Regions from separate parts of the Homo sapiens genome. Here region 2 is linked to region 1. The links are contacts of gene promoters, found by promoter capture Hi-C in blood cells and fetal thymus (Javierre and others, 2016). All regions are on one chromosome and are shown on one strand. Each heading gives the region's core, a stretch centred on a gene start or on the middle of the fragment in contact. The rest is flanking DNA. Distances are from core to core; before and after follow the strand shown. Region 1 holds the start of NUMA1 (nuclear mitotic apparatus protein 1). Region 2 overlaps PPME1 (protein phosphatase methylesterase 1).

What was found. The method cuts DNA at HindIII sites, captures the fragments that hold promoters and counts their contacts. A CHiCAGO score of 5 or more calls a contact.
Region 2: a contact is called between a fragment that was not itself captured here and the fragment with the promoter of NUMA1 in region 1, in 1 of 17 cell types (non-activated CD4 T cells). The highest score is 8.0, in non-activated CD4 T cells.

The regions. Positions count from the first base shown.
Region 1 is chr11:72,077,457-72,082,773 of GRCh38, reverse strand. It overlaps NUMA1 (nuclear mitotic apparatus protein 1), which reads left to right and starts at 2,232. Exons shown (of 27, transcript NM_006185.4): 1 at 2,232-2,316. LRTOMT (leucine rich transmembrane and O-methyltransferase domain containing) reads right to left here and starts at 1,924. Exons shown (of 9, transcript NM_001145310.4): 1 at 1,889-1,924. It overlaps LRRC51 (leucine rich repeat containing 51), which reads right to left and starts at 1,924. Exons shown (of 6, transcript NM_145309.6): 1 at 1,889-1,924. RefSeq lists enhancers at 911-1,865, 1,877-2,146, 1,866-2,821. The HindIII fragment of the contact is 5,366 bases long and covers 1-3,859 here.
Region 2 is chr11:74,172,081-74,177,397 of GRCh38, reverse strand. All of the region lies in intron 1 of PPME1 (protein phosphatase methylesterase 1), which reads right to left. Among named protein-coding and RNA genes, the nearest start is that of PPME1, 3.4 kb to the right of the region's middle. RefSeq lists an enhancer at 5,315-5,317. The HindIII fragment of the contact is 790 bases long and covers 2,367-3,156 here.

The DNA.
Region 1 (5,317 bases), core at 983-3,482:
AGGAAGGATGTGATGGTAGCTAGGACCTATATAAAAGATATTCAGGAAGTAAAGCTGATAAGACTTAGTGATAGATGGGAAATGGAAGAGGTATTAAGTAAATGGAAGAGGTACTAACTTGGGTTTTGGGCTTGGGTATATTGTGGATAAAGGTAGGAGCACTGGAAGAGATCCAGGCTTGGAGGAAAAGGTTGGGATACACAGAGATTGTTTCAATTTCAGAAATGTAGAGTTTGGGTTGCCTTTGAGGTATCCTAAAGGAGATGTTGAGGCAATTGGCTATATAGATCTGGAGCTTAGAGATGAGGGCTGGGCTTGAGATACACACTTGTGTACATTTGCATACAGGTGGAAAATGAAGTTGTGGGTGTGGAGGGGTACCCAAGAAGAGAATATAGAGTGCAGTGGCAAGAGGGCGTAGGACCAAACCTGGGAGAACTTTAAGGTAGTAAGTGGACCAGTCAGGGCCAGCTAGTCACCAGCTAGAAACCAGCTAATCATGGTCACTTCAGACATGGGTGCTGTGTTAGCCCTTCTGTTTCCTGTTTAGTTAAAAATGTTCAAGTCTCATTGTCTTAGTCTCTCTAGTTCCTTTTCCCCATTAAAAGTTTCAGGGGAGGATCTGAAATTCATTCCAGCTGAAGTGTAAATAATACAAAGTAGGCCACACAGGTTCCTTTTCCCTGGGGCAGTTTAACTTGTTCCTTGGAACAAGTCCTTCCGCTATAGAGGCAGTAGGCTGAAGCTAAAGAGACTTAGCTGGAAGTCGGAGAACTGGAGTCTAGTTCTAGCTCTGTCACTAATTTGGTGTGTGGCCTTGGGCAAGTCCCTTTTCTCTGGGTTTCAGTTTTCCAATCTGTGAAATGAAGATAAATATCCTTGACTCACAGAGCTGTTAAGAGTATCAAAAGAGAGACTGTGAAAGCACTGGGTAGGTTACTAAATGTAATAGATCTGTCGTGAGTACTAAAAAAAATGAAGCTCTAACTGTAGAGCTTTGAGTAGCGGACCACGGAGAAGGTGTGGGGAGAAAAGGGAATCTGGGGACAGATTGAGAAGGGGTTTTACTCCTTGGAAGAAGAAGGAATGAGGCACTTCACGCCCCAGGAAGTTTCCTACATCTCTAGAATTAGGGTAGCGACTGCGATTTACTCAATCTAATGCTAACCGCATGTCTTGGAAGAGGGTCTCAGTTCCTCAGAGGAAAACCAACCCCATTTCTGAGGGCGTTTCTGATCTCCCAGGTTATGCCTGGAACTTGAAGCATCCGATTTTGGGAGCTTTATGTTTGCGTTGGGGGCGGGGTTCGTTGTTTTGTTTTGTTTTTGTTTTGTTTCGTTTTGTTTTGTTTTGAGATGGAGGTATCGCTCTATAGCCCAGGCTGGAGTGTAGTTGCGTGATCACGGCTCACTGCAGCTTCAATCTCCGGGCTCAAGCGATCCTTCTACCTCAGCCTCCCTAGTAGCTGGGGCCACTGGAGCGCGCCACCAAGCCCGGCTAATTTTTTTATGTTTTTGGTAGAGACAGGGTTCGCCATGTTTCTCAGGCTGGTCTCGAACTCCTGGCCTTAAGTGGTCCGCCCGCCTTGGTCTCCCAGTGTTGGGATTACAGGCGTGAGCCACCGCTCCCGGCCCTGGGGGTGGTTCTTAAGCATCCCCAAATCTGTATGGATATATATCTCAACGCCTATCCCTCCCTCTGCTCCCCCTCGCCCAGTCTGTCCCATGTGAGTGTTGTATCTTGTTCGCTGTGAAAGGTGATGAGGGTCGGTGGGGGAAATCTCAGATCCCCGAGCAGGAAGGTTCTTAGTCGTTCTGTGAGTGCCCCTCCCTTCTCCATAGATCTCTTGTCCCCTAGAACGGGTTTCCTGTTTTCCCGCCCGACTCACCCGCAGTCGCTTCCTCTCCAGTCTTGGCGTCCCACTGCCTCAGGGTTACTCAGAGCAACTCCATGGCAACTGCTTTCGTCACCACAACCCGGCAGGCGCCATAAGTACTGACGCGATGCTTACCGGGACCTTCAGTTTGTCAGGGGCGGGGCTTCAAGGCCGCGGGTGACGCTGGGATTTGTAGTTCTCTTTGCCTTCAAGTACAGGCCGGGGTCCGGAAGCGGTGATACCCCTTCTCTTTCCCAGTGGCCCTCAAACTTCCTTTTCCCGGGTCCTTAAGCGGGCCCCGCCGACAGAGGCCAATCAGAGGGCAGCGCGAGGGGGCGGGGCCATAGTTTAAACTAATTGTGCGCTCACAGCGCTGGCGCGAGCCCACGAAGAGGTACGATTCCGGAGAATCGCGAGGCAGAGCGGGAGCGCGCAGCCAGGTAACCGGCGCGGGCCCGCGTTTGGCGTGCGGCCTGGGCACCCCTGCGGGTGCTCAGGCCTAAAAGGGGTGCTGGAGAGGCCGCTGCGAGCGGAAGGCCTCCTCCATAACCGAGTCCGAAAGGGCAGAATCTATGGGGGTAAGGTTTGTGAGGAGAGGCGCCTGAGAGGGAGGAGCCGGGGGGGGGGGGGGTGCCTTAAAGGGGAGGGTCTGTTTGGGGGCGTGTCTGTGGAATTAAATCTGAAGGTGACTGGGGTCGGGGGTATAGGGCAAGTTCCCGAAAGGCTTGTAAGCGAGGGGTCGGGTCCTGGAAAGTCTTTGCCTTTTATCGTTAACAATAGCAGTAGTTATGGTAGTGCAGTAGTCAGCATTTTCTGAGCTACACCGTCCACAATGACCTGCCAAATGTTTATCTTTTTAATCTTCTAACCACCTGTTATACTTTAAAGATGGGGAGCCTGAGGTTTATAATGTTTAGCTTGGCCCGGGTTACGTAGCCAGTGCGAGGTTGGCTCTACTTTGGGTTTATGGGTTGGGCATAAATGGGGACGGGGAAGGTGCTTTGTGGGGGCGCGCGTTGTCTTGGACTGGTCAGTGTATTTTGAGCCTCACTTTTCATATATGTAAACAATGACCTTACCTGCCTTACCTACTTCCTGGGGTGGTTGTCCTGGTCAAAACAGGTTAAGTCTTTTTTTTTTTTTTTTTTAATTTTTGTTTGTTTTTGTTTTTCATCCATGGACTCTCACAGATAACATGTTTCATACACGCACCTCGGAGAGTACAAATTTATGACTATAAGTGGTGTGACTGTGTGAAGATTGTGGGTGGGCGGGAGCCCACTGGGTTGATGCTGCCGCCTCTGGGTACTCTCTTTTGCTTACCTCTGAGTTAGCACTTGTCATTTTTTTTTTTTTTTGAGACGGAGTCTCGCCCTATCGCCCAGGCCGGAGTGCAGTGGCGCGATCTCGGCTCACTGCAACCTCTGCCACCCGGGTTCAAACAGTTCCCTGCCTCAGCCTCCCGAGTAGCTGGGATTACAGGCGCCCGCTACCACACCCGGCTAACTTTTGTATTTTTAGTAGACACAGGGTTTCACCATCTTGGCCAGGCCGGTCTTGAACTCTTGACCTCGTGATCCGCCCGCCTCGGCTTCCCAAAGTGCTTGGGATTACAGGCGTGAGCCATCACGCCCGGCCTGCCATCTGGTATTTTAAAAGTCTGCGTGTTTGTCTGCCCTTCTAGATAACGAGAGACTTTTTCGTCACTGTATCCTAATGGCTAGGCAGGATTTGCGACATGTAATGGGAATAAATGTATGCTTTGGAATAATTTCTTGGGCTGAAAGGGCACAGGAATTTCGCTTTCCCGTTTTCATTTAGTGGCATTTGAACCTCAGTATTAAGCTGTCCTCTTTACTGGAATGGCACTCCCTCTTGAAAACGTGATGATATTTTCTTGCTTTAATACATAATTCCCTCTCTCTAGTATCTGTTGCCTGGTTCTATGTTTCCAAACTTCTGGGTTGTCTGGTCGTTAAAGCTTTAATGGTAAGGGAGTTGGGCCTCTCTGCTTTGTGGAGATCTTTACTGCTGTGAATATATGGGAACCTGGGGCGAACATGAGGATCATGTAAGGTAGCTTTCTGTCAGCACAGATGGGTTTATGTTTCCTCAGTCCCTCTTTCTGTGTGGTATTTTCTTCTTTAGAGGAAGAACCACATACTTTTTTGTGAAAGCTTCCAAAGTATTCTTTTCGTAGCCTAAGTTCTAGCAAGGGATGACTAATTGTAATGTCTAAGCTCTTAGTTCACAGCGAAAAGCGGTACATTCCAAAAGCTTAAAGATCTTACCTGAAAGCTCGTTAAGAAACGTAGAATTCTTTTTTACATGTGGAACATGGAAGTGGGAAGAATGCCTTGAAATAAGACTTGAATTCTAGAACTTTTAGGATGAGGGCAAAGCCCTGCTCAGGTGGCTGAACAGAGCTGATCAGGGGCTGTTTGGACAGCTGTGTCTAATTGATAAAACTATGATCAGAAGATATTAGGTTTGTGCAAAAGTAATTGCAGTTATTGCCATTGAAAGTAATGGCAAAAACCACAGTTACTTTTGCATTAACCTAATATATGGTGTGGTCATTTAATTTAGCCTCTTACCCAGTGTACACTAAACATACCAAAAGGTGTTGTCCAGACTCAAAATGAGTACTTTCTAGAATGAGATCATTCCCAAAGTCAATCCATCTCTAAGCTGAACAATTCTAATTGATAATTATTATTTTGTAGCTGGGCATGGTGGCTTGCCCTGTCATCCCAACTACTCTGGAGGCTGAGGCAGGAGGAGCAGGCGGGAGAATGGCTTGAGCCCAGGAGTTCTTAGCTAGCCTGGGCAACAGAGTGAGACCCCAACACAATTAAAATATGTTTATTGTTTTGTATTGTTAGTGATTATTTCATTTTACCCATGTATGTCTACTGTTTGCTTTTTCACTATTTTTCCTTGCATTTTATTCCTTCCTTTTTTATTGCATAGATACATACATCCTTCAGATGTTTGTCCAGTGGGAATCTGTTAGTGGTAAACACTGTCTTCATTTAAAAAATCTTTATTTCACTTTCAGTTTTTTGTTTTTTTTTTTTTTTTGAGATGGAGTCTCACTCTGTTGCCCAGGCTGGAGTGCAGTGGCACAGTCTCGGCTCACTGCAAGCTCCGCCTCCCAGGTTCACACCATTCTCCTGCCTCAGCCTCCCGAGTAGCTGGGACTACAGGCGCCCGCAACCACGCCTGGCTAATTTTTTGTATTTTTAGTAGAGACAGGGTTTCATTGTGTTAGCCATGATGGTCTCGATCCCCTGACCTTGTGATCCTCCCGCCTCGGCCTCTCAGAGTGCTGGGATTATAGGCATGAGCCACTGTGCCCAGCTCACTTTCAGTCTTGATTGGTAGTTTAGCTGGGTACTAGGCTTCCAATTATTGTCTCTTAGCACTTTGAAAGTGTTT
Region 2 (5,317 bases), core at 1,512-4,011, 2.1 Mb before region 1:
GGCTCACTGCAACCTTTGCTTCCCGGACTCAAATGATCCTCCAGAGTAGCTGGGACTACAGGCACACACCACCACACCCAGCTAAATTTTTGTGATTTTTGTAGAGAAGAGGTTTCACCATGTTGTCCAGGCTGGTCTCCAACTCCCAAGCTCAAGTGGTCCACATGCCTTGGCCTCCCAAAGTGCTGGGATTACAGGCATGGACCACTGAGCCTGGCCAGGACTATTTCTTTATTGTAGTGAAATTTACGTAATGGGTAAAGGACTAAAAAATTTAATAAATGATGAAAACAACTAGATAGCCTTTGGATAAAAATAAAATGTCTTCTTTTCCTCACTTTGCATATCAAGATAAACTTCAAATGGATTAAAAAAAAATTGGCTCATGCCTGTAATCCCAGCACTTTGGAAGGCTGAGGTGGGTGGATTACCTGGGGCCAGGAGTTCAAGAGCAGCCTGGCCAACATAATGAAACCCCGTCTCTACTAAAAATACAAAAATTAGCTGGGTGTGGTGGTGCATGCCTGTAATCCCAGCTACTTGGGAGGCTGAAGCAGGAGAATCGCCTGAACCCGGGAAGTGGAGGTTGTAGTGGGCCAAGATCACACCACTGCACTCCATCCGGCCTCGGTGACAGAGCAAGACTCTGTCTCAAAAAAAAAAAAAAAAAAAAAAAGGACACTACACAGGTACCAGGAAAAAATATAAATGATTCCTTTATAACCCAAAAAAAGGAAAAGCCTTTCTGTGACTCAAGATCCAGAAGCAATACATGCTGGGAGGAAGGGAAGATGCTAATGAGTAACGAGTTTATGGGAGGATGAAAATGTTCTGCAATTAGTGGTGGTAATTGTACAACTGAGTGAATATACCAAAAATCACTGAATTGTACATTTAAAAGAGTGAATTCTATGGCATATAAATTTAACTTTTTAAAAATCTAATGAAAAAATAAAAAAAAAAACAGAAATACTGGGATTTGATTATTTTAGTAACTCAATTTGTGACCTTGAGCAAATCACTTCACTTTGCCCTTTATTTCCCCATCTGTGTGAATAGCTCATTAAAGCCTTCCTAAGAGGCCTGATATCCATAATAAATTTAAGAAGATGGATGAAAGACTATCTAATCAGATATGAATAAACATACAGCTTGTGGGGACAAAAAAGCTGATAACATAAGAAACTGAAAGGAGAGCTTCCACATAAACTATGAACCTTCTTCACAGTTCTCAATGTATAATTATCTACTAGCTATCATTCTTTAAGAGCTTATGTGTCAGTGTCAGGAACTATAAGTGCTTTTTATGTATTATCTTATTCTCACAGCACTCTCAGGTAAGCAGAAGTATTCTCATTTTAGAGATAAGAAAATAGACTATGAGAAGTTAAATGACTCGACCAATGTAAATACCTAAGTTGGGCTTCAAACTTAGATCTTTGTCACTTCAAATATCAAACCCTTCAATGCAAGCTATAGAAAGAACAATGGACTAAAAATACGAAGTCCTGGGTTTGAATGTTGTTCCTGCCACATAATGATTCTGTGATCTTAGGCAAGTCAATGAACATTTCAGTTTTCTCATTTATTAAAAGAAAATATTAACTCCTGCCCTAGTTTACCTCATAGAATATAAAAAGGGACTACTATATACATGTCAGTTAAATCACTACAGAGCTGGGCATGCTAGCATGTATCCTCAGTCCTACCTACTCAAGAGGATGAAGTGGGAAGACTGCTTGAGCCCACGAGTTTGAGGTTGTAATGCACCAAGATTATGCCTGTGAAAAGCCACTGTACTTCAGCCTGGGCAACACAGCAAGACTCTATCTCTTGCAAAAGAAAAAAAAAGGAATTTAAGAGATAATAATAGAAAAGTAGAACTTTTTTTTTTTTGAGATGGAGTTTCGCTCTTGTTGCCCTGGCTGGAGTGCAATGGCGCGATCTCGGCTCACCACAACCTCCGCCTCCCAGGTTCAAGTGATTCTCCTGCCTCAGCCTCCTGAGTAGCTGGGATTACAGGCATGTGCCACCACGCCAGCTAATTTTGTATTTTTAGGAGAGACGGTGTTTTTCTATGTTGGTCAGGCTGGTCTTGAACTCCCGACCTCAGGTGATCCACCCGCCTCGGCCTCCCAAAGTGCTGAGATTACAGGCATGAGCCACCACACCTGGCCAAAAAGTACAACTACTGATAAACCAAAAACACGTTGAATAATGAATGGCTTTAATATTTTATAGTTCCTCTAATAGTAATAGTATATACGAAAGCAGTGACTTTCAAAAGATACTTCTCTCAAGCACACCAGGGGTGCAAAGCAAATAGGGATCTCAAATCTACTTTAGTCAGAGTAGCTCTAAAAGCTTTAATAAAGAAGTTCAAAACCACTGTTTTTGGCAACATCCATTGGCATCTATTAAAAGGAAGAGTGACACCAGGATTTCAGGCCTTACCCAAGAGAAAATATTAGTGTACTGAAAAGTGAATGGATTCTAGAGACTAAACTTAGATTGAATCCTAGCTCTGCTACCTACTAGTTGGGTTACTTTTAATCTCTGGGTCTGAATGTCTTTACCCACAATGCAGGAAAATATTCACCATGCAGGTCTGTGGACACATTAAATAACATAAAGTTACCATTACAATGTCTGGCACACAGTACTTACTTTAAAAATTGCTATTATTAAATTATCCAACAATACTTTGGAATTACTAAATCTAATCTGAAAAACTGAATTATGGAAACTCATGAAAAATCACCAACTCAGAATATGCACCCTGAATATGCAAACATGCCTAAATAATGTTTAGTGAAATTGAAGGCAAGAGATCATGAAAAATAGTTAAGAGTAAGCCACACAAGAGACTATCAAGAGAACAGGACTAACTTGTGAGTAACATAGATAGAGTGGAAGAATGGAAGTTAAGAAAAAAGCAAGTAAGCATAAGGAGACATAAAGAATGCTTTGAAATTGGTGTGAGACTTCATAAATTACGACTGAAGAAAAAGACTGAATCCTAGATTATATGCAAATGAGTAAGATACACAACTCAAAATAAGTATCCCCAGATGACAATTATGACTCCAAAATACACAATGGGTCTCACAGTCAAGAGACCCAAGTCCTAGTCCTTAACGGCCCTACCGCTAAGCTTCTAGGGTACCTTAGGAATATCTGAGTCTCAGTTCCCTCATTTATTAATACATTCCCTTATAGAATACAGAACTCTCTGAATATTGGGTTCCTCAACTACATGAAGTGGTGAAATGAGACCATGTCTATGCTTTCTCTCAGCTTTATGATTCTAAGGAGAAAGAGAATCTATATTATTACTACCATGAGACTTAGATGAAGCCTGCTTATATACCAATAAAGTAGAAAAGAAAGATACGGGAAAATAAGCCATTTGAGGACCACACAAATATTCGCCAATATATGCTCTTCTCTTCACAATACTATCATAAAGAAAGGCCTTTCTAAAGAACTTTCTTTTCCAGGATAAGCAGTTAACCTAAACCAAGAAGACCAAAGCATCTTTTTAAAAAGGTAAGTTGTCCAGGCACAGTAGCTCACTCCTATAATCCCAGTACTTTGGGAAGCCAAGTGGGGCAGATCACTTAAGGCCAGGAGTTTAAGACCAGCCTGGCCAACATGGCGAAATCCCCTCTCTACTAAAAATACAAAAATTAGCCGGGCGTGGTGGTGCATGCCTGTAATCCCAGCTACTTGGGAGGCTGAGGCACAAGAATCACTTGAGCCCGGGAGGTGGAAGTTGCAGTGAGCCGAGATTGTGCCACTGCACTCTAGCCTGGGCAACAGAGTGAGACTCTGTCTCTAAAAAAAAATAAAATGAAAAGTAATAAAAAATAAAAACGATAAATTACTAACAATTATACAATCTTCTAATCAGCAGATTTTCCTTTTTTTTTCTCTCAGTATCTTCATTCAGTTCTTCAATCTTCAGAGAACTTGTTTCTCCAAGATGAGAAGCTGAGCTCTAATTAAGCTTATCTAAGGAATGTATAATTATTAAAAATCTGATTTTCTTATGTATTTGTATAGAAGGGTGCTGGTATACTGAAAAATCAAATTTATTTTAAGAAAGGCAGCAACTAAGATATTTAACAACAATTAATGTTACATTAATATTAAACTCCAGGTTAGTTTTCCCAAATAATGTTATGGGTCAGTTTCCAAATTCTCTTTATTCATGTTATAGTCCAACTTTTCTGTCTTCCAAAGCCAAAACAATCTTCACTTTACCTTCTATGTAGCCTTCTACCTCTATTGTGCGTCTATCTCTCTATCTCCTCCTGCTAAAGTTTTCTCATTTTTCTACTGCGTATCATAGCAGGTCTCCACTCAATTCTTAGTTTCCTTCCCTGGTTTTTCCACCCATTTTTCCCATTCCTTTACCCCACTGTTTTATAGGATTCTCCTTTCTTTTCATCCCTAGGACTTACTGTCACAGTACTGCATCTCCTACTCTCGCCTCCTTTTTGATAAGTTTTTACACATATTACTTCTTCAGAACCTAAGGTTTCTCTTCTGTAGTCCTTTTTCAAAGAATATCTACCAATTCATCTCTAGAATCCCAAATATACTCTGGAGCCCTCATACCTAAGTATCTTTCCTACTCCTTTTCTCTTTACAGTCACTAATTCCCAGAATCCTGTTTGAAACTACAAATATCCCCTCAAAACCAAATGCCTATTCAATTCTCTCCACTTTCCAGCAATTACTTCTCCCATGTTCACCTCATTCTTTCTCCTCGGCCCAAGTATCCCCTAACCTGGCACAAGCCATTTAACGATCTAAAATTCCAAAACCTATCTCTTCTACATGGCTCTCCTTCCTTTCCAGCAAACTATTTCTCGAACTCCCAATGCTTCACTAATTCAAAGTCTTAGGCCAGTACGTCGCTTCCCTCAGATCTACTAGCCCAGCAAAAACTGATTGCCCAAATCTTCCTCTAAGCTTCCCAGACCTTACAACTGCAGCACTTCCATTCACCAAACCGTATTTATAGTCATCTCTCAATCTTTAGAGCCTATGGTCACTCTGTAAATTCTTCAGTTCTCTCCTTCTTCTCTCTCCCTTATCCTGTCCAGCTTCTCACTCTGTAAATTCTTCAGTCCTCTCCTTCTTCTCTCTCCCTTATCCTGTCCAGCTTCTCAGCACATTCCTACTACCCTTAACAATCTTCGTGGCTATGTTCTCCACCTTACCTTAGGCCTACTCCCTAAACTTTCTCATTCTCCCTTAAGAGACCTAATCTCACCTCTCATTCGCTGAATCTGTCTTTACACCTCTG